Regions from separate parts of the Homo sapiens genome. Here all the other regions are linked to region 1. The links are contacts of gene promoters, found by promoter capture Hi-C in blood cells and fetal thymus (Javierre and others, 2016). All regions are on one chromosome and are shown on one strand. The core of a region is centred on a gene start or on the middle of the fragment in contact, and the rest is flanking DNA. Distances in the headings are between cores, read along the strand shown.

Evidence for each region. The method cuts DNA at HindIII sites, captures the fragments that hold promoters and counts their contacts. A CHiCAGO score of 5 or more calls a contact.
Region 2: a fragment that was not itself captured here is called in contact with the fragment with the promoter of RBL2 in region 1 in 3 of 17 cell types (neutrophils, total CD8 T cells and fetal thymus); the score reaches 10.4 in neutrophils.
Region 3: a contact is called between a fragment that was not itself captured here and the fragment with the promoter of RBL2 in region 1, in 2 of 17 cell types (naive CD8 T cells and total CD4 T cells). The highest score is 6.1, in naive CD8 T cells.
Region 4: a fragment that was not itself captured here is called in contact with the fragment with the promoter of RBL2 in region 1 in 8 of 17 cell types (neutrophils, total CD4 T cells, non-activated CD4 T cells and 5 more); the score reaches 8.2 in neutrophils.
Region 5: a fragment that was not itself captured here is called in contact with the fragment with the promoter of RBL2 in region 1 in 1 of 17 cell types (non-activated CD4 T cells); the score reaches 5.0 in non-activated CD4 T cells.
Region 6: a fragment that was not itself captured here is called in contact with the fragment with the promoter of RBL2 in region 1 in 2 of 17 cell types (total CD4 T cells and total CD8 T cells); the score reaches 8.4 in total CD4 T cells.
Region 7: a fragment that was not itself captured here is called in contact with the fragment with the promoter of RBL2 in region 1 in 12 of 17 cell types (neutrophils, naive CD4 T cells, naive CD8 T cells and 9 more); the score reaches 25.7 in neutrophils.

The regions. Positions count from the first base shown.
Region 1 is chr16:53,432,975-53,436,054 of GRCh38, forward strand. RBL2 (RB transcriptional corepressor like 2) reads left to right here and starts at 1,497. Exons shown (of 22, transcript NM_005611.4): 1 at 1,497-1,822. The coding sequence starts at 1,583. RefSeq lists a silencer at 1,552-1,771 and an enhancer at 2,382-2,491. The HindIII fragment of the contact is 5,814 bases long and covers 1-3,080 here.
Region 2 is chr16:53,081,783-53,085,171 of GRCh38, forward strand. All of the region lies in intron 1 of CHD9 (chromodomain helicase DNA binding protein 9), which reads left to right. Among named protein-coding and RNA genes, the nearest start is that of CHD9, 28 kb to the left of the region's middle. The HindIII fragment of the contact is 344 bases long and covers 1,090-1,433 here.
Region 3 is chr16:53,914,087-53,917,024 of GRCh38, forward strand. The region is part of intron 7 of FTO (FTO alpha-ketoglutarate dependent dioxygenase); the gene reads left to right. Among named protein-coding and RNA genes, the nearest start is that of FTO-IT1, 120 kb to the right of the region's middle. RefSeq lists an enhancer at 203-1,848. The HindIII fragment of the contact is 6,118 bases long and covers 1-2,938 here.
Region 4 is chr16:53,102,424-53,105,535 of GRCh38, forward strand. All of the region lies in intron 1 of CHD9 (chromodomain helicase DNA binding protein 9), which reads left to right. Among named protein-coding and RNA genes, the nearest start is that of CHD9, 49 kb to the left of the region's middle. The HindIII fragment of the contact is 221 bases long and covers 1,474-1,694 here.
Region 5 is chr16:53,740,582-53,743,765 of GRCh38, forward strand. The region is part of intron 1 of FTO (FTO alpha-ketoglutarate dependent dioxygenase); the gene reads left to right. It overlaps LOC124903691 (a long non-coding RNA gene), which reads right to left. Exons shown (of 3, transcript XR_007065070.1): 3 at 971-1,171. Among named protein-coding and RNA genes, the nearest start is that of FTO, 38 kb to the left of the region's middle. The HindIII fragment of the contact is 2,471 bases long and covers 180-2,650 here.
Region 6 is chr16:53,719,369-53,722,469 of GRCh38, forward strand. All of the region lies in intron 1 of FTO (FTO alpha-ketoglutarate dependent dioxygenase), which reads left to right. Among named protein-coding and RNA genes, the nearest start is that of FTO, 17 kb to the left of the region's middle. The HindIII fragment of the contact is 2,701 bases long and covers 366-3,066 here.
Region 7 is chr16:53,132,917-53,136,107 of GRCh38, forward strand. The region is part of intron 1 of CHD9 (chromodomain helicase DNA binding protein 9); the gene reads left to right. Among named protein-coding and RNA genes, the nearest start is that of CHD9, 80 kb to the left of the region's middle. The HindIII fragment of the contact is 621 bases long and covers 1,130-1,750 here.

The sequences.
Region 1 (3,080 bases), core at 247-2,746:
AGTTTACATATCCCACCAAGCAAAACAAAAATAGCAAAACAGTAATGCCTTCTGAATCCTCAAATTGCTCAATCCTCAGATTGCTCCTCAATCTGGAAAATGTTTTATATCAAGCCCATTTATAAATCAAGGATTGGCAATTTAAAAAATTAAAATAAAGAAAGGAGAATTGGAAATAAAATGAATTGGCTGGGCACGGTGGCTCACGCCTGTAATCCCAGAACTTTGGGAGGCCGAGGTGGGTGGATCACTTGAGGTCAGGAGTTCGAGACCAGCCTGGCCAACATGGTGAAACCCTGCCTGTACTGAAAATACAAAAATTAGCTGGGTGCGGTGGCGCACACCTGTAATCCCAGATACTCAGGAGGCTGAGGCAGGAGAATCGCTTGAACCCAGGAGGCGGAGGTTGCAGTGAGCCGAGATCGTGCCACTACACTCCAGCCTGGGCAACAGAGCCAGACTCTGTCTCAAAAAAAAAAAAAAAGTTTAATTCACGCAGAGCCAGCTGAACGGCAGACAGGAGTTTGGTTATTCAAATCAGCCTACCAGAAAATTCGGAGACTGGGGTTTTTAAAGAATGACTTGGCGGGTAGGGGGCCAGGGATTGGCGAATGCTAATTTGTCAGGTGGGAGGTGAAATCACAGGGGGTTGAAGTGGGCTCTTGCTGTCTTCTGTTACTGAGTGGAATTGCAGAACTTGTTGAGCCAGATTATGGTCTGAGTGGCGCCAGCTAGTGCATCGGAATGCGCGGTCTGAAAAGTATCTCCAGCACCAATCTTAGGTTTTACAATAGTGATGTTATCCCTGAGAGCAATTGGGGAGGTCAGGAATCTTATAGCCTCTGGCTGCAAGCCTCCTAAATCATAATTTCTAATCTTGTGGCTAATTTGTTAGTTCTACAAAGGCAGACTGATCCCCAGGCAAGAATGGGGTTTGTTTTTGGAAAGGACTGTTACAATCTTTGTTTCAAAGTGAAATTAGAAATTAAATTCCTCCTGTAGTTAGTTAGGTCTTCGCCCAGGAATGAACAAGGGCAGCTCGGAAGTGAGAAGCGTGGAGTCATTTAGGTCAGATCCCTTGCACTGTCATAACTTTCTCACTGTTAGGATTTTTGCAAAGGCAGTTTCGTGAACGTACAGAGACAGGCCCTTGCTATTATCCCTATTTTTTAGATAAGGATATCCAGGCGATGAGGAAGTTTTACTTCTGGGAACAGCCTGGATACGAAACCTTCACACGTCAGTGTCTTTTGGACATTTTCTCGTCAGTACAGCCCTGTTGAATGTTCTCACGGTGGGGAGGTACGTGTTTAAAATGCGGGGAAGGTGCTTTTATTTCACCCCTGGTGAAACTAGGGGAGCTAATTTTTTTAAACATGATTTTTGGCCCCCTTGAACCGCCGGCCTGGACTACGTTTCCCAGCAGCCCGTGCTCAAGACTACGGGTGCCTGCAGGCGGTCAGCGTCGTTTGCGGCGGCGCAGGCGCGGTGCGGGCGGCGGACGGGCGGGCGCTTCGCCGTTTGAATGGCTGCGGGCCCGGGCCCTCACCTCACCTGAGGTCCGGCCGCCCAGGGGTGCGCTATGCCGTCGGGAGGTGACCAGTCGCCACCGCCCCCGCCTCCCCCTCCGGCGGCGGCAGCCTCGGATGAGGAGGAGGAGGACGACGGCGAGGCGGAAGACGCCGCGCCGCCTGCCGAGTCGCCCACCCCTCAGATCCAGCAGCGGTTCGACGAGCTGTGCAGCCGCCTCAACATGGACGAGGCGGCGCGGGCCGAGGCCTGGGACAGCTACCGCAGCATGAGCGAAAGCTACACGCTGGAGGTGCGCTCGCGGGCGGAGGGGCGCTTCCGGCCTAGTTGGCGTGAACCGGTGCCTTCCGAGCCGCGTCGCGCGCCTCGAGAGACTCTCGGGCGGGTTGCGGGCTCCCAGCCCCGAGAGGGGTGGGGACTTCCTCTGCGCTATTCCGAGGCTCTTAGCCGCTCCGAGGGCTAACCCGCTCTCGCCGCGCTTTCCTGCGGCTTCCGAATGGGGAACGCGTCTTGCCCTAAAGTAGCACAGCAAGGCTGAGATCGCGCTGGGGTCCCGTTGAGGAAAATGGGTGTGTGTGGCCCATCTGACCCCCCGCCCGCCTTGTTAGTAGAATGAACTAGTGTCGTTGTCAAGACCACACGGACAAGGGGAGGGGACTTGCCCTTATTTGCACCGCGATTAACCGGGTTGTGGCACCTGGGTCTCCAGGCGTCTCCGTCTGTTCGCTTCCCCCTGTTAACCAAATTGCCTTTGCCCTGGCGTTGCGGGCGTTTGAGTCAACGTGCTGATGCGTTTTGGGCTGTGTTTACGTCTGTGTAAACAAATTAATACTCATTTCCCCCCAGGCCAGATGAAATGAGCCCTCCGCCGACCCGGATGTAGACACATGCCCCCATTTGTCACTAGGATCAGGACTGTGGCTACCTCGAGGGCTTTTTGGTCACCCCGGGCATTGCACAGGACTCCTGTTGTTGTTGCGATCCGGGTGTGTTAGGTCGCAGCCTTCGGACAGGGCTTGCAGATGAGAAAAATGGCCATTCTAGCCAGTGAGTGTCAGCTTTGTATGCACCTCCCCTTCATGGGCCAATGGGAAGTGACACGGAAGTACGGATTGTTTATCAGCTGTTTGACTGTGTGTGTGGCATTTAAACCTGAGGCCATTTGATTTCTCAAGTCGTTTTATAATTAATTTGTAGAAAGAGTCGGGCAAATAGGTCCAGGATGCAAAGCCTAACCAAGGTATTATTTAAATATGATGTTTTTGGCTATGTGTACTGATGAGTGAGGTTATTTTTAATTTGTATTTGCATTAATAGAATTTTAATTCAATTACTAGTTCCCTCTTTGAATTGTTAGGTCTGCAGAAGATAGTGTATGGTGGCTTTAGAACCCGACAGACCTGAAACCGCTGGAAAAGTTCAGTATGGTGATCTCTAAACTGGAGATATTTGTGTTTACCTCACAGAGCTGTTCTGAAGATTAAATAAGGCAATAATGTAGTTTCTGGCACATAAAGCACCCATATGGACAGTGTTTTCAAGTTTACTAA
Region 2 (3,389 bases), core at 12-2,511, 350 kb before region 1:
GGTGTTTCACTATGTTGCCCAGGCTGGTAAGTGATCTGTTTATATTTGTCAAGTTTGTGAATGAATGAATGAATGAATGAATGAATGAATAAACCAATAACCTTGGATACTTTTCCTCTTTGAGCCTCAGTTTTCTCCTCTATAAAAACAATATTTAAAAAAGTCTAACACCTACTCTGCCTACCTCACCAGGTTAGTGTGTATGTGTGTGTGTGAGAGAGAGAGAAAGAGAAAGAACAAAATGTATGAATGTTCTTTGTCTCCTGCGCACTGGAATTTAAAAGTCACTTTGTCTCAGGCTCTGTGCTTTAACCTTGGTGTTGGTGTTCCATATCAGGAGGAAGGACTATTTTCCAGTGTCTGGTAAACACTTAGTTCTCCATCCTGTATTCTAAGTATCTTAAGGACAGGAGAACATTTTATTTATTTATTTATTTATTTATTTATTTATTTATTTATTTATTTATTCATGTATGTCAGCATCTTGCCCTGTCATCCATGCTGGAGTGCAGTGGCGTGATCTTGGCTCACTGCAGCCTCAACCTTCCCTGCTCAAGCCATCCTCCCACCTCAGCCTCCTGAGTAGCTGGGACTGCAGGCCTTTGCCGCCACACCCAACTAATTTTTATATTTCTTTGGGTAAAGACAGGGTTTCATCATGTTGCCCAGTCTTGTCTCAAACTCTTAGGCTCAGGTGATCTTCCCACCTCTGCCTCCTGAAGTGTTGGGATTACAGGCATGAGCCACTGCACCCAGCCTATTTTAAATGCTTTTAACCGATTGGTTTAAATTTGAGAACAAAGAATTTTAAGGTTCTCAGCCTCAGCTTATAGCCACTGCCCTGTTGGTCCCTTACTTGGCCCCAGAACCCTGGAAACCTTCCCAGGACAGAGCTTGCCTTACTTCCAACCACAGATCTTCATCAGGTGCAGGAGGAATTCGACCTTCAGATCTTTGCCCATGCACTTGGCTCTGCCTGAAGCATTCTCTTTGCTTTTTACCCGTCCAATTCCAGCACATCCTTCAGATCCCAGGTTAGACTCCCTTCTTCCAGGATACGTTCCCAGCTCCTCTCTGCCCTGTCAGGTAAGCTTCCTCCTCCATGCCCTCCCTCTTTGTGTCCTCTATCTGAGTGCTCACCCTGCTGAACTGTGGTTTCCCATCAGTCGTCTGCCTCCCTTTTAAACTGTGGCCCCCTGAGGACTATGATTGTGTCTTCCTTGTTCATTGATGTAACCTTGGTACATATCACAGTGCCAGGTACCAAGAGGATATTCTACAAATAGGCATTGATTAAGTGACTGGCAACAGTGTGTTGAGGAGATGGGAGAGAGGGTGACAAATCACAAAGGTCCCCATAGGAGGGTATTGTATTTCCTGAAGTATGAGAAACAACACTTCCACCAAAATGGCTTGCATAGCTAAGGATGCAAAGCTTTGGTGCATAACTTGCATAAACTAAGGATGCAAACACACCCCCAGACATTCCTGGACACACCCTACTGTAGGCAGTCATTCATTTAACACACTTGCCCTTGCTCTGAAATTTCTCCTCTTATCGTCTCCTTCCACTCATCTTTCTCATTTCCTGTATAAGGGAATTGCAAGACTAAAAGAATCTAACTGGCAGCAAAAAGATAATGCCAGAGAAAGAGATTATATTGCCACACCTTTGCTTAAGGTTTTTTCCCCTCTTTCTCTGCCTGTTAGATTTCTGCACCATTCCATTGTAAGGAAATTCTACTTATCTTTATTATGGACAATTCCTGAAGACACCTGAACTTTGAAAAATAGCTTAGTATGTGGTTCTGCCCACTCTTTGGAGTCCTGCCAAAGGTGTCTTTCAGCAAATAGCCCCCAACTCCGTGCCTCAGTTTCCCTCTTTTCTCTCACAGAGATGAGAAACAGAAGTTGTCCTTGAAACTTTTTTTTGAAAATAAAAGCGCCCCCACCCCCCGACTTCTTTGTTTTATTTTTAACAAAATAAAACCTGTCTCTCACTCTGTCACCCAGGCTGGAGTGCAGTGGCATGATCATAGCTCACTGTAGCCTTGAACTCATGGCCTCAAGCGATCCTCCCACCTCAGCTTGCCAAGTAGCTAGGACTACAAGTGTGCATCACTATGCCCAACTAATTTTTTTTTTTAATTGAGATAGGGTCTCACTTTGTTGCCCAGCCTGGGGTCTCAAACTCCTGGCTCAAATGATCCTCCCGCCTCAGCCTCTTAAAGTTCTGGGATTACAAGCGTGAGCCACCCGCACCCAGCCCTGACTAATTTTTGAATTTTTTTGTAGAGGTGAGGTCTCACTATGTTGCCCAGGCTGGTCTTGACTCCTGGTTTCAAGCAATCCTCTTGCCTTGGGCTCCCAAACTGCTGAGATTACAGGTGTGAGCCACCGCACCAGTAGAAGAGCTCCTTAAATATGCAGTTACTTGCTGGTCATGACCATGGAATGTGAAGGAAAGGAAGGTGTCACTTAATTCTTCTATGGGCAGGTGAATTTTAAGTTCTTAAGGTTGACTCAAATGTGGTCAGAGACTCAAGTGAAAACTTGCCCTACCCAAAGAAAGAGTCCTGAACTGGCCTTGAAGAGGAGGAGGATTTCTGAAGCAGTTTAGAGTGTTGTTGGTAAGGACCCAACTGGCAGCAGATACAGCATGATAAAATCACAGAAGCCTGGCAGGGTGCGGTGGCTCATGCCTATAATCCCAGCACTTTGGGAGGCCAAGGCGGGTGGATCATGAGGTCAGGAGATCGAAACGATCCTGGCCAATATGGTGAAACCCTGTATCTACTAAAATACAAAAAATTAGCCGGGCGTGGTGGTAGGCGCCTGTAGTCCCAGCTACTTGGGAGGCTGAGGCAGGAGAATGGCTTGAACCTGGGAGGCGGAGGTTGCAGTGAGCTGAGATCACGCCACTGCACTCCAGCCTGGCAACAGAGTGAGACTTCGTCTCAAAACAACAACAGCAACAACAAAATCACAATCACAGAAGCCGGAAAGTGTTTTCTGAGCCCCAGGAACATCAGGCGGTCTTACCCTGTTAGGATGCTGGTCAAGTCTTTCGTGGTATGCCTTCATCTGACCTCCTGGCTTCGTCTGTCCACACCCTCTACCATACTGCAGGCATACAGGACCCACTTCCTAGGTTAGGGTTGCAAACTGGGGGTGCTCGGGTAAACTTGGACTGCTAGACAGGCTTTGTTTGGCTCATAACATCGTCTTTTGCAATACTTTTTACTTAAGTCAATTCCCAAATTGGGAGACTTCACGTAAAATCCAAATCTTCACTTATTTTGGAAAAATAAAAGATCTGGCAACAGAGGGCCACATTCGTCCATAATAGCAATCAGCTAGAGCCAGAAGTGAGTAGCTGCTGCCCCTTT
Region 3 (2,938 bases), core at 227-2,726, 480 kb after region 1:
TCCCAGGGACTCTCTTATTTGTGGAAGAGTTTCAGAGCCTTTTGCTGACTCGAAGAAGATCAAAAGACAGGAAGACAGTGGTTTGCCTCAGCTTGGACTTTAGCATTTCTGTTTCTTTTAAAACCATCTCCTGTGATGTCTTAGAAGAAATACTTCTTCTTTCTTTCTTTTTTCTTTTTTTTTTTGTCCTGTTTCAAATTCTGTTTCGGAGTTCTCAGTGCTTTCTCTTTCACACATTGGAAATAAATGACTGCATTTTTGTTGAAATAATTTTTTTTTTGCAGATAAATAATTGTTTAACAGAATAGAAACTTTTCTTCAGTAACGTCTTTTTTTGGAAAGTAAGTTACAAGATTTTGCTTTAAAAATACAAACTATTTTTAAAGAATTGTACTCTCTAAAGTCAAACATTCCTGCCTCCTGTCAAGTCCCTATAAGATCTGGTCTGTGGCAACTTCTCAGGGTGGTCAGATAGCAAGAGGAGGACAGATTGGGAAGGCAAAATGGCTTTAAGGGTAAACCCCACAGCGTAAAATCTCATTACTGGAAAAGCGCTTTGTGTTTAAGGATAGGTATTCCCGTGTGGAAGGACGGCCATGGCGAATGCTTAAGGGACTCACTAAAATATCTTAAATTGTCTCCGTTAAACATGTAGCATCCTTAGAGGTCAGACAGAGCTGAAACTTGAACAGCTGTACAACAAGCATCTGAGATTGTTTTTAATTGTGTTTCCTTTCTCTAACAGCAGTAATTCTTGTTTATATTGTCAAGAACCTTTCCACTGAGCACAAGCGCACCATACTTGAAGGTCAAATGCTTAACCCTTCTGCATGGTTACAATGAAAATGGACCCTTTTGTTTTCATTAATGTATACCCCAGCCATGTCTACAGGGAGAATGGGGGCCCCAAGCGTTCACCAAGCTGAAGCAACTTATTGTAAAAGAGCCACAAAGAGAGCATATTTTTGTTTCCATACAACAGTTGTTTAGCTTTTGCCTTGTGCACCCAACCATAAGACGGTATGCTTACTTATCAATGGGCAGAATTTTGGGGGACCATTTTGTTCCTTTGACCTGTGTTACTTTTTACTGACCCAACCAAATTGCTTAAAAATTTTCCCTTTCTGCTGTCAGTGTTTAAAGCTGCTTAATGTCTCTGAAGTGATCCCTTCTTTCTTTTTAACACTTTACATTCCTGTTTATCACAGCACCTGTTACTATAGTGAACCATGAAATCACAAATGCTATGCAGCTCTTATTGACCAATAATACTTTATTAAATATAAATAGAGTATCCTCCCAGCTTCTGTATGGTGTATAAAGGTCTCAGTATATGAAGACAAATGCACATATGTCCATAGGTGCACATGTATTGTTTGGTGGGCAACAATCGGGAAAGGAGGATGTTTTATTTATTTGTCAGGCAAGAAATGTTTCTTTTTCTGCTCCTTAAGAGTTAACCAAAACTAAAGGGGCCAGTTCAGCAAACACTAAATGTGAGCCTCCAACATGAAGGCATCTTTGTTACTGAAACAAAAATACCACAGCAGGTGGTAGACTCGAACACAGGAGGGAGGAGGAGGTTCAGTTGTTGCCCATTTTTCTAATCCTTTCAGAATACCCATTGTCTGAACCCCAAAGTTAACATGTTCCTGCTCAGTCTCATGGAGACAATTTCAGCGTGAAAGGGCTGTGCCCATCACTGGTTTTCGACAACAGTTTAATCTTTGGGTATGGAATGTGTAACCACTCAACAAGGCAGGAGAGGCAATTGTCTGTCTGAGATGAGCCAATAATATCTGCTTATCAAAGCATAAAACTATTCTGGATGTGGCAAGTCAGAGTTAAGTAGGAATTCATGCCAACCGCAGCAGTAGTTTGCAGGTTTTAGACTGTATTAATCAAGACAGAAACATGACTTTTGTTGTCCTTGGGGCAGCTCAAAGCAACTTTGTGGCAACCACACTGGCTTTCTAAAGCTAAGGCTAAACTCTGCACAGTCTGCATCTATTTATATCAAGGTGCTTCAGTGGGGATATAGCTTTTAAAATGGATTCATAATTGAAGTTGGAATATTGTTTTCATTCCCTAAAACTGAATGAAATGTAGTTTATAACTCTGGACCTCAGAGTGCCCTACCTAAGTGGGAGGCATTAAAAGATGAGTTAAGGGGCAAAGGCGGGCTAGCAGACTGATGCCTATTACTGCTTATGATGAAGGGTACCACTATCCGGTTCATATGCTTGGGTCTCTCTGTGTTCTCATTGAGCCATCCACAATCGTTTCTTTTATTCTAAATCACCGTTGGAATGATATAAGAAAATGAATGCAGTATAATGAGAATTAAAAAAATAAATTTGTAAGAAGTATAGAGTTGGAAATCTTGTTCCTATAAACGTAAGACACAAATTCTAATGAGCTTATAGATGGTCCGTAAATCACGTTTTGCTCATGTGAACATTGAACATTGGGTATTCTTTCCTAACCAGAGAGAAGCTACGATTCTGCTGCCTATGCCACACTTTAGATGGAATGATGGCCTCTTTTAGTGGCACTAAATGTATACACAGAGCACTAAACATATACACAGAGCAGTATCTGCAAACTTAAGGACTTGTGTGATCTTCTGGATAATACTAGCACTCAGAAGTTAACATTTCATCTGACGCATTCCTTTCATATGTAGTATTCATAAATGTGAAAATAGCCTTAAATCATTATTTTCACCCTTGACCTGGGACACTATAGCTAGGGAGAATCTCTGGGATATCTGGAGGGGAGCTAAGGCTCATCAACTATTTGGTGGTTGTCTTTCTGAGTTTAAAAAATGATGCTGTTTACTGTGACCTCAGGTGTCTGTCTGTGTGTCCAAGTGAGACTGTAGTCGGGGAGAGTCCCTGATTGGAGTCTCAGTCACCAGAAGTCCAGTCACCACTTC
Region 4 (3,112 bases), core at 334-2,833, 330 kb before region 1:
AGTGCAGAGCTGTTAAATAAATGTCCTAGGTCATCCAGCTAGTAAGTGGCAGAACCTGATTCAACCCAAACAGTCTCACTCCAGAGTCTCTCTTCTGAACTGTGACACTCTATACCCACAATAAATATTTTTTTAATAGATTTAGGCCATGCATGGTGGCTCACACCTGTAATCTCAGCACTTTCAGAGGCCAGAGGTGGGAGAATCACTTGAGGCCAGTCTTCAAGACCAGCCTGGGTAACATAGCAAGACTCCATCTCTGCAAAAAAATAAAAAATTAGCCAGGCATGGTGGTGCATGCCTGTAGTCGTAGCTACTCAGGAGGCTGAGGCAGACGGATTGCTTGAGCCCAGGAGTTCAAGGCCACAGTAAGCTGTGATGGTGCCACTGAACTCCAGCCTGGGTGACAGAGTGAGACCCTGTCTCTTTCTTTTTTTGGGGGGACAGAGTCTTGCTCTGTCACTCAGGCTGGAGTGCATTGGCGCAGTCTCGGCTCACTGCAAACTCCGCCTCCCGGGTTCACGCCATTCTCCTGCCTCAGCCTCCTGAGTAGCTGGGACTACAGGCACCCGCCACCACCCCTGGCTAATTTTTTGTATTTTTAGTGGAGAAAGGGTTTCACCATGTTAGCCAGGATGGTCTCGATCTCCTGACCTCGTGATCCGCCCGCCTTGGCCTCCCAAAGTGCTGGGATTATAGGCATGAGCCACCCCACCTGGCCCTGACCCTGTCTCTTTAAAAAAAAAAAAAAAGGTAGATTTTATTTGTTTTTTTTTTCTTTTTCTTTAAAAAAGAGATGGGGTTTCATCATGTTGCCCAGGCTGGTCTCCAACTCCTGAGCTCAAGTGATCCTCCTGCCTCAGCCTCCCAAAGTGCTGGGATTACAGGTGTGAGCCACCATGCCCAGCTTAGCTTTTATTTTTAGAACACTTTTAGATTTGCAGAAGAATTGAGTAGATAGCACAGAGAGTTTGATGAATGAGCAAATCAGTGAATGGAGTATCCCTTGATGGAGACGCTGATTCTTTACCCAAGGCAGGTTAAAAGGGAACTCATCTTTGTGTGAGTTCTCTATGTGCCCAGCACTTTATATATGCTATTTACTTTATTCTTACAGCCAGCTTGTTAAATAGGGAGCGTTAACCTCATTTTGCAGTGAGCAAACTGAGGTTCTGAATGGCTAGAAGAATTGCCCTAAGTCCTCTAGCAGATGAGGGGGTAGAGCTAGAAAGTTCTTATCTATCTCATCCTAAAGATCACATTTGCTTTTTCCTCTGATTGAAAACTTCAAAGTTATCCTCAACAGGTATTTTGTTTTGTACATACCTAACATTGGTCTCTAGTGCCTTATAGTTTTTAAAATGCTTTTGTACCCCTCTTTACCTTTTGGTCATCACAACAGCACAGGAAGGTGAGTAAGGCAGCTTTTATGATTGCATTTCATAGAGGCAGCTACTCGGGCTTAAAACATTAAGCTTGTATATGAAAAGGGCTGAGGTACCTTCAGGACTGGAACACAAATATGTTGATTTCCTACTCCATGGCCTTCCCTTCTCGCCAAAGCATTCCTCTGTTATAAACGACTTCATTGCACAGGATTCTTGCTGGGCCTGCACAGGAAATACCTGGTTTGCTCTGGTCGTGGAGCTGCTCCTCTTCCCTGGAGTTGGCCAGGGGAATTTTTCTAAAATCTAAGCTTTGACTGCATTTAACTCCTTTCCTAAATGTTTGGAGGAAAAGGGTGAACTCTGACATTTTATTTTTTCCCCCTTGTATTTAACCAGCACAAAGATTTGGCCATTTTCAGTTAAAGAATGTTGTTTCCGATTATGGCACAGTTAGAAATTGCATTGCCAATGTTGGAAACCCATTTCATGATGGCAGCAGAGCAGAGATTTCCACTCTGCCCTTGGCTCTCAGGCCACTATTGATATACATTGGAAGCCAGCAAATTCTCTTGGGTACTTCTCCTTCCTTGACAGCCCCTAGCTGAAAGCACCCAACTCAACTCATCACCCTGGAGGAGAGATTCTTATTTTGTTAAATTATTTTTTTATTTTGAAAACAATTCAAACCTACAGAAACTGTATAAGAAAGTTACAATGGGCTAGGTGCAGTGGCTCGTGCCTGTAATTCCAGCACTTTGGGAGGCCAAGGCGGGCAGATCACTTGAGGTCAGGAGTTGAAGACCAACCTGGCCAACATGGTGAAACCCCATCTCTACTAAAAATACAAAAAATTAGCTGGGCATGGTGGCAGGTACCTGTAATCCCAGCTACTCGGGAGGCTGAGGCAGGAGAATTGCTTGAACCCAGGAGGCGGAGGTTGCAGTGAGCTGAGATCGTGCCACTGCACTCCAGCCCGGGTGACAGAATGAAACTCTGTCTCAAAAAAAAAAAAAAAAAGTTATAATGAACTTCTTTCTCGTATATTCTCCTAGTTGAAGGGCTTAATTTTAAAAAATCATTTAATGTAATTTTACTACCTTGAGCCCCGAACGCCTGGGCCCAAGCTGTCTTGCTGCCTCAGCCTCTCAAGTAGCTAAGACCATGACTGGCTAATTAAAAAAAAACAAAAAAACAAAAAAAACACAAAAAACTGTAGAGATGGAGGTCTCGCTAATTGCCCAGCCTGGTCTTGAACTATTGTCCTCGAGCAATCCTCCCACCTTGGCCTCCCAAAGTGCTGGGATTACAGACATGAGTCACCACGCGCAGCCTCTTTAAAATATTAAGTTTATTTATTTCAGTAGGAATTATATTTGTTTGATTCAAAATTCGAAAGGATATATAGTGAGGTGTCTCCCCCAAACCCTGTCCCCCCAGTATCCAGTGCATTTTCTAGAAGAAGCCAATAATTTCAGTTTCTTATGGGCCTTTCCAGAGATATTTCATATATATGTATGTAAATGTATATAAGCAAATACGGTTTTATGTGCGTATTTTTGTTTTGCCTTTTTTTTGTGGTAGCATACACTTATTCTACAACTTGATTTTCTCATTTGAAATTATTCTATTAGTAATTTATTTCAGTCTTCTCATTTTTTAAAAATGATTTTACTGTATTCCATTGTACGGGTATTCCATAATTTGGTCAACCAGTTCCCTAAGAT
Region 5 (3,184 bases), core at 165-2,664, 310 kb after region 1:
CATCTGTTTCAATTCTTCATCTTGTAATGCTTCCTTTCAAATAGCTACATGATTACCTTCCAGTTTAGGGGCACTGAAAATGTTATCTCTGGCTCAGTTGACAGTTTTTATTGATGATCTGGTGGGAACCAGGTCTGTGGCTTTTTCAGCACATTTCAATGTCCCAATACCACACAAGAAGCTTTTCTCTCTCCCCTGCACACCCCAGATGAATACAACTTTACTGTATATTCTAATAATAAAATACATAACCATAAATTAAGACAAGGCTGAAAGGTTTAAAGAAGAAAGTAAAAGTCAACCTTAATTTTACTTTCCAAACAACATAATCACTCCGGACATTTTGGCCTGTAACAGGGGTCAGCAAACTATTGTCTGTGGGCCACATCTGGCCTGCCACTTGTTTTTTAATCGACCTTGAGCTGAGAATGGTATTTACATTTTTGAATAGTTGAAAAACATTAAAGTAACAGTAACATTTTGTCACATGAGAAAATTGATATGAAATTTAAAATTGTTTCCCCAAATAAAGTTTTATTGAAACATAGCCATGCTCATTCATTTACATATTATCTAGACTGCTTTCATGCTAAAATGGCAGGTTTAGTAGTTAGTTATAGGCCTTCAAAGCCTGACGTGTTCATTATTACTATCTGGACCTTTATAGAAAAAAAATCTGCTGACCCTTGGTCTATACCCTTCAAGACTTTTTCTGTGCATTTGCGTGTGTGTGTTTACATTTTGAAACAATGAGGTTATTCTATGTGCTTTTGTAATTTACCCTTTTTGCTGAATAGTGTTTACAAGTAACTTCTATTGCATTGTTTGTTTATTCCATTGGATTATAATCTGTGAACCACTCTGTTGCTCTTTTATTTGTATTGTACAAACCCATTAGATGTTACCTAGGAACAGTAATAATAATAGTAGTAGTAGTAGTACTTACTATATGAATTAAAATTGATTTTAATTGTTTAATGAAATAAAACTTTATTTTTTTCACATAATCTGAATCATGACCTAGGTAGTGGTCAAGCTGCCCAAGAAGGTCATTGAGGAACCAGGATCTTTCCAGTGTCCTCTTCTGCCATTCTCAGCATGCAATTTCATAGAGAGAGGGTGACTAAACTCTGTTATTGTTGTGTATCAAGTTACCACAAGTCTTAGCAATCTGAAACGACAAATATTAATTACCTTACAATTTCTATGGGTCATGAGTCCAGATACAGCTTAGCTAGTTGTCTCTGGCTCAGGGTCTCACAAAGCTGTTGGCTGGGAAATCGCTTATTTCAAGACTTGACTGGGGTGGAGGGGATCTGATTCCAAGCTCACTCATGTAGGTTTTGGGAAGTGACAGACCCATACTGGCTGTTGGCTGGAGAATCAATTCCTTGCCACGTTTCTGTCTCCATAGGGCAGCTCACAACATGTTTGTTAGTTTCTCCCAGAGTATCTGGGGAGAGTGGGGGGTAGGTTACAGACTTTTTGTAACCTACTCTGGGAAGTAATATTCCATAACTTCTGCGGTATTCTGTTTGTTAGAAGTGAATTTCTAGGTCCAGCCTATACTGAAGGGGAGGAATTCCAGGAGGGTGGGAATATCAGGAGGCAGGGATTATTGAGGGTCTTCTTGGAGGCTGCTTTACTATGTGGTTTCATTTAAATGTGGTGGGTAGACCTTCAGGCATTGGCCTGGCAGGAAGGGTCAATACCAGCCCTTCCAGTTTTTCAATTAGAACTATGCCATATGGCCACCCCTAGCTGCAAGAAAGTCTGGGAAGGCAAGTTTTTTTTGGTGACACATTGTTGCCCAGGTCAAAATCAGGATTTTGTTGATAAGAAAAATTTCGATAATAGACACTGGGTGGACAACAGAAGGTATCTACTATCCCTGCCTTCTAAGGTGGTTATAAAGGTTCAGTGAGGCAATCCAGCACTGGTCTGGCTTATAATATTCACTCAGTTAAACAGGAGCTATGATTATTGCTGTTACTTAAAATCACATAATATAGCTTTGTAAATTAGCTTGTGACAAAACAGGATCCCTATGTGTTGATACTAAAAGAAGTAGCATAAAAGGAAGAAAAAAATACATTGATTGGGTGCATAGTATGTACCAGGCATTTTATTTACATGCAGTATCTGAGTTAATCTTCATCATAAACCTAACTGGGTATTGTTTGCCACACTTTATAGATAAAGAAAAGAAAGCCCAATAAGATTAACTAGGTTGTTGAAGGAGCGCTTTCCACTAGTGTGCCTTGAGTGGGTTATAGTTTGTGGAGATATTGGTTCCTTTAGTTCTTGGAATGGGCAGATGGGGACAGGGGTAACTGGAGCCCCTGGTCTCTTCATCTCTAACTCTGGGCAGCCTCTTCTGATTACTCCAGTGTGCCTTAAAAAATATAATTTTCTGCACACTCCATGATGTGGAAAAGGTTAGAGTGTATAACTCTATCCATGAGTAAGTGAATCCAGGTATGTATAATTCCAGCTGCCTGTCTCCTTTCCACTGTCAGGCTCTCAACAATCTATAGAAGCCTTGAATTTTCGTTAGCCTAAAATTTGAAATGCCCCTTCATTTGCTACAAAAATATTATATTTCTACATTTTCTTGGATTATAAAGTGATTTAAGTTAACATGATTTGAAGCTTCACTGTGGTCGGAATGAAAGCTTGCTTGGCCACTAGGTGGCTCCTTTTGGTTCTTTCTCCCAGTCGATGGTTGTGGCTTTGTCCTGTGCCACCTCTTAGAAGGAACCTAAATTGGACATAAGGAAGCCTAGACAACAAGGAGATCTGAAATGAATGGGACATGCACTCTGATGATTGCAGTTACCTTTTCATCCTTTACTTTCCACTCCTGTTCCTCCTGTGCTCATACGCTGATGTTTAGGTAACAGATCTAGTCCCTGGAGCCTCAGATGAGTCTTTGATATCTCTTTCTCACTTATAAAAGTGGGAAAGTGGGGTAAAGAACTTTTGTCCTCATCTAGTATGTTAGGTAATAAAATAATTGTAACATGTTTGCAGATAATTTTAGGCACAATTTTTAATACAGCTTATTATCGTGGGAATACTTGTGTTACTACGCAGATAATGATTGCACTATTAATATTAATTTCCCTATTCTTTAATTTAATAATACAAGCTTTAACTTACATGTATTATCTCCTATAATCCT
Region 6 (3,101 bases), core at 466-2,965, 290 kb after region 1:
TTACAGGCGTGCACCACCATGCCTGGCTATTGTCTATTTAGTTTTCTTCTTGAGTAAATTTTGGTCATTATATCTTAGAATGGGAGAGTTTTACATTTATTGACATGGCATTGAGCATAACATTCTCTGGTTTACTAGGGTAGAATTGTGTATAGTTTTATAATTTAAAAAATTCCATATTCACTTTTTCCATCTTCTTTTAAATTATAACTTTGTACATTCTTGTCTTCTCTTTAAAAATTGACTATATTTGCTGGTAGTCTGTTTTTTTTTTTTTTTTTTAAACAAGCTCTTGAATTTGTTTATGCTCTAATTCATTAATTTCTACCTTTGTTTTTATTGTTTTCTTTGTCCTGCATTGCCTAAGCTTCTTTTGGCAACATCTTGAGATGAATGCTTACTTATTCATTTTTATTCTTTTTTGTTTAATATGGAAAGTATTTCAAAATCTTAAAATAGTTTTATCTTTTTGGTTTCTGTAGCAATTTGTGCATGTTTTTGTAGCACTTATTCAGTATTCTAATGATTTTTTTCATTTTCTTTCTCATACCTTAGTTATATAGACTATACTTTATTTTTCTTTGTACCCCAATGTCCGCAGAGTCTTGAACACAATAGGTACTGAACTAATGTTTCCTAAATGAATACCCTGAATTCCCCCATTCCCCTTTCACTCCACACAAATAGTAAGTAGCCTGCTATAGTTAGTGGAAGTTTAGCTCTCCAACTACCAGTGCACATCACTGGTGGTTGGAGGGCTAAACTTGTAGTCTCACATTCCAACTACCAGTGCACATCACTAGTAGTTGGAAGGCTAAACTTGGAGTTTCACATATGCCACTTACTACGTATTACCTTGTATGAGTCCTCCAATCTCTGTGATGTTTCATCTGTAAAATGGGGATAATAACTCCCTTCCCTGCTTCATCTGAGATGTCATCAATAAGATAATAAATGTAAAAGAACTTTGAATACTAACAATGTTATGTAGATATAAATATGATTTAAAATAGGTTTTTAGCATTCTTATCTCATCCACCACTTCTCCCCCTCCCCACCATGTAGAAATTATCAAGTTCTTAGGAACAGAAACTTATTTTGAAATAGACAATATTGTACATATTCATGGAGTACATAGTGATGTTTTGATACATATCGTGTATAGTGATAAGATCAGGATAATTAGCATTTTAATCATCTCAAACATTTATTATTTCTTTGTATTAGGAACACAGAAACTTAAAAAGATATATATATATCTTTTATATATATAAAATATATATATATCTTTTATATATATATAAAAGATATATATATATCTGTGTCTTCCGAAGTATCTAGCACAGAACTTTGTTGACAGATATACAGTAAATATTTGTTGACTGGATGTTTTCTGAGATGTACTTTTCTTTTTCTTTTTCTTTTTTTCTTTGAGACAGAGTCCTGGGTCCTGCTCTGTCACCCAGGCTGGAGTACAGTGGCACAGTCATAACTTACTGCAGCCTCGACCTCCTAGGCTCAAGCAGTCCTCCCACCCCAGGCTCCTCAGTAGCTGAGACTACAGGTTTGTGCCACCAAGCCTGGCTAATTTTTGTACATTTTGTAGAGACTGGGTCTCACTATGTTGCTCAGGCTGGTTTCAAACCCTTGGGCTCAAGCTATCTGCCTGCCTTGGTCTCCCAAAGTCCTAGGATTACAGGTATGAGCCACTGCACCTGGCCTGAGACCTACTTTTCAAACATGAAGTACTAAGTGATCCTCAATTGGACCAAGACTTAGGAGCCCTGCCCCAATCACGTTGCTTCTCCCAGTTTACTCGGGGTGACCTAGACAGCTACATCAACACACAGTCTGGTGAAATGCACATGCGTAACTTGAGGATGTCAACCTTTTGGCACAGTCTCATTTCCTCTGCAGAAGAGCGGCTAGAGACATTATACTCTGTTCCCGAAGTATATAGACTAATAAAATAGTGGAGTTGATTTAGATTGATAACAAATTATAAAATTGATAAAAAATATTTTCTATTTTTATACCATTTAGAACAGCTATTAATATTTTTAAAATTTTTTTCTCAATTGGATGAAAAATAAATGTATGATTATTCCTTCCCTTTCAATTGCAGTTACATTACATTTTCATTGTTTCTCTTGCACTGAGATTTATTTTTTATTTTTAGTTTATTTTGTTCATTGCTATGGAAGGGTGATAATTGTATCAAGTAAGTCTCTTTTACTTACCTGAGAGTTCCCATGTTCTTTGGGGAAATAAATGTCATCATATAAGTCAGTCTTAGGTTAACAGGTTGTTTTAAAATTGCTAACCACTATCCAAATGCAGAGTGATAGTATTTTCTGGGTAGGTATTTCATACTCTCTTTTCGAATATTGGTCACCGAAGGATTTCACAAACCACTGACATTTCAGCATTATGACAGTGCAATGTGCTCCTGTCACCCTCTGACCCCATATTTTTTTTAAACCATTCATTTCAATCGGAAAAAGTATAATTTTTTGAAAAAACAGAGATACTTACCCTTTGCGCTGCTTTTAAAGATTACTGGGAGACTTCATATCTCAGATAATTGATGGTAAATTCTGCTTGGTTGTTTATAAGCTCAAACTTTGGAGATCTACAAAAAGAGTTTCATCTGAGAAATAAAAACTATTTTAATGATTGTATGATCCACCAGACTGTGAGGTCTTTTCTTCAGTCCCTCCTCTTTCATGAAGCGTTTGAGGATTATTCCATTCATCTCTTTCCTTACCGACTTTATTTCCTGTGTCAAAAAGTATGATACTAACGGTAAGTTTGTGTATGGTACATTTACTGGTGTATGGTACCGTATGTGGTTGACGTTAGGTCATATTAAATTTTACATTTTGAGATTGCTTATACATAGTAGTGTTTTATACACAGTAATTCTCTTTTCCCTATGGGGATTATAAGATCCCTCTGGCTGACAACACTGCTATAAATTTGTTTTTTGTGTCTAGTAAGATGCTACAAATGTGGTTGACTCTCAGCATTTCTTGTCAAATGGAAACATGTATAGATTGGAAGTTAAGCTTTTTGTTTTTTGTTTTTTTTTACTTTACTGA
Region 7 (3,191 bases), core at 190-2,689, 300 kb before region 1:
TCCAACCTCAGCCTCCCCAGTAGCTGGGATTACAGGTGCGCGCCACCACGCCCGGCCGTTTCTTCTATTGCTTTAAAAATTCACGTTATGTAGTTATAGTTTACCACAAAGTATTGGCAGGTCTCTGTCCTTGGAGAGTTTCCTATAAACTATAGACCATATAATGTAGACGTGAAGTCTGTATTACAGACCTGAAGTGCATTGGGAAAAGTGGTTGCCTCCCAGTTTTGATTAAGGGTAACTGTCATTCCTGAACAGTTTCAGGTAAGTATGTATAGTATTGCAGTTAAAAACAGCAACAACAAAAAACCCTTGTGATTAATTGACCAGGAGATGATATCCTAAAGGCACAGGAAATAACATCAGATAAAAGCAATGCTAGTCAAAAACATACTAAGTAAGGTGTATGAGCAGGCTACTTTAATCGGGGGCGGCTCTTAATAGGGAGGCTGAGGCAGGAGAATCACTTGAGCCAAGAGTTCAAGTCCAGCCTGGGCAACTTATTAAGACTGCATCCCGTCTCTATTAAGAAAAAAAAAATTATGATGCTTTTATAACCAGTAAAATCCTCTTCTTGGATAGAGTGCTGGCTAGAGAGAATCGGGACTTTGTCACTTAACTGTGTAGATAATATTAAGTTTCTTGACATCCGTGAGCCTTAGTTTCCTCCTGTGTAAAACTTTGTTTCCTCCAGTTTTACTATTGTAGGATTCTAAGTACCCTATGAGGTCTATCCTCTGAAATCAAAAACTTATGGGGTGGGCAGATATGAATACAGATAGAAAACGGTGTCCATGGAAAAAGCCCGTGACAAGATAAGATTAAGGAAACCATAGAATTTTCAACTTGGAAGTATCTTTAGAAACTTTAATTACAAACTTCTTATCTAATGCAACCGAATGCTTTCTACAAGGCACTGTGCTAGACCTTCCTGGTTTACCTCTGGAAACAGGATAGAGCTGAAGGAGGGGCTCGATATATGAATATAAGAGGCAAGAACTGAAGTAGAAATACAGATTTTAAAGTAAAATCTATTGCATCTATCAATAGTAAAACAAAATTTTGGTACATATGAAAAGTTAAGATTTTCTAAAGATGTGTTTATTGATCGAAATGTCATAGAAAAAAAAGCTTACCTCCGTAAATAACAGAGAAGAAAAATGAAATCCTAGAGAGTCTATAAAGAAAAACTATGAATTAATCTACTGGGGAAATTTCATCGGGTAATGAGTGAATAAAAAACACAGGTAAGAATATGGAAACTTGAGGCAGTTGGTCAGAGTAAAAACTAATGGAAGCATGTTGTAAGTGCTTGGAAAACTTCAGAAGCCAAAGATTGGAGTCAGAAGAGATTTATGGATACTGATGAGATAGAGTTATTTTAACCTTTCAAATTCTTTGAAGTTGTCTTAACGTGGGATATAGATTTCTTATATAAGATTTAGCTTTTTTACACTTATTTACGTTGTAAATTTAAAGTGCCACATTCCAGTTTTATAACTGTTCCCTAGCACTTTGTGCCTCTGTTTACTTCCTTATTTGGGCTTCACTCCCTTACTTTTCCACCTCTTGGAATTTTACCAGTCTGTGAATACTCAGGTCAAATTCCACCTTGTGAATAAAATCGTATCTTGTCCTTGTAGCCCTTAGGGATTTCTCCTTCCCATGAGATCTTAGTATAATTATTTGTTGCACTTATTTGGCATACCATGTACAACTTCCTGACATTTCCTCTACTGTATTGTCTTTAAGCTTTCAGAAACAATTTTTATTCCTTTCTTTTAGAAACAGTTGGAAAGCTGATCAAGTGACAATGGGAGACCCAAAGAAGGGGAAACCACTTTGAACTGTAATTTATTCTCTGGACTCAAAGTCATTCACATCCATTTATTCATTAAATGTATATATTATGAAGTGCTCCCTTAATTTATGATATATGTATTAAGTGCATAATAAGTGATCCCTGCCTTCATGGAACCTACCATCTAACAGTGCAAACAGATAAAGAACAAGTAAATAAACAAATGGAAAATTACAACTTATGATCAGTTCAGTGAAATAAAAGAACAGAGTGCTATGGTGGAGAAAATGGGGAGAAATTAATGTTGTATTCTCAGAGAAGGCTTCCCTCAGTTGGTGATTCTAAGTGGAAACAGAATAAGAAGACAGGTCAGGAGAGAAAAGAGTTTCTTGGAAGAGAGAAAAATATGTTTGAAGGCTATGACACAGGAAAGAACTTAATATTTGAAAGAAATGAAAAGTTCAGGATGGCAGAAGCATAATAAGGCAGAAAACCATATGAGCTGAAATGAGAGATAGAAAGCAGATTATACAGGGCCTTGTGGGGCATATTAAAGACTTACAGGTTTTACTAAAGACATTGCAGTCGTTGAAGATTTTGAATTAGAGAAGTGATACGCTTTAATCTACATTTTAAAAATGCTACTTTGAGAATGGATTGGAGAAAGGCAAGGGTGAAAGTAAAGATATTGTAATACTACAGTAGTCCAGGAAAAACATGATGGTAGCCAGATTATACATATATTTTAGAGAGGAGATGGTGAGGTGTGGAGGAGGAACAACTGACAGATTCATGATGGATTGGATGTGAGAAGAAAAGTGTCAAAAATGATTTCCTGGTTCCTGGCTTGAGAAACTAGATAGATAGTGGTGTGTGATTTACTGAGATGAAGAAGATGAGGGAAAGGAAAGATTTGGCAAGAAAACAAGTTTTGAACACCATCCCTGGACAAGTGCTTCAGAAGAAGTCTACCTTTATCTGAATGATAAGCGCCTTAGAATAGGTTTAGCTAGAAGTGTGATACCATACAATGACATATTCATATTGTGTTATTTGAGAGGAAGAAGCAAGCTTCATATTTATGTTAGAAAAACTGGTGAAATGATCTTTTTTAACAATGCACTTCAGTTTTTGAAAGTTTATTTGAATATTTTCATAATGGATTATATTAAATATGAAAATTTGAGAGAAATAAATCAATATAATATTGAATGGATATATATAGTATTGGGTGATGGTGCAGAATACAAAAGTTTTATAATCTTGATATTCTCAGGAGAGTAGCATTCTTTTCAGTTATTAGCTTGTAAGGGAGCCTGATAATTTATAATTTTTAATGAGGCTTCTCATTTAATGGTGCTTATAAGTAGAAGTTATAGTTCAGTCATTA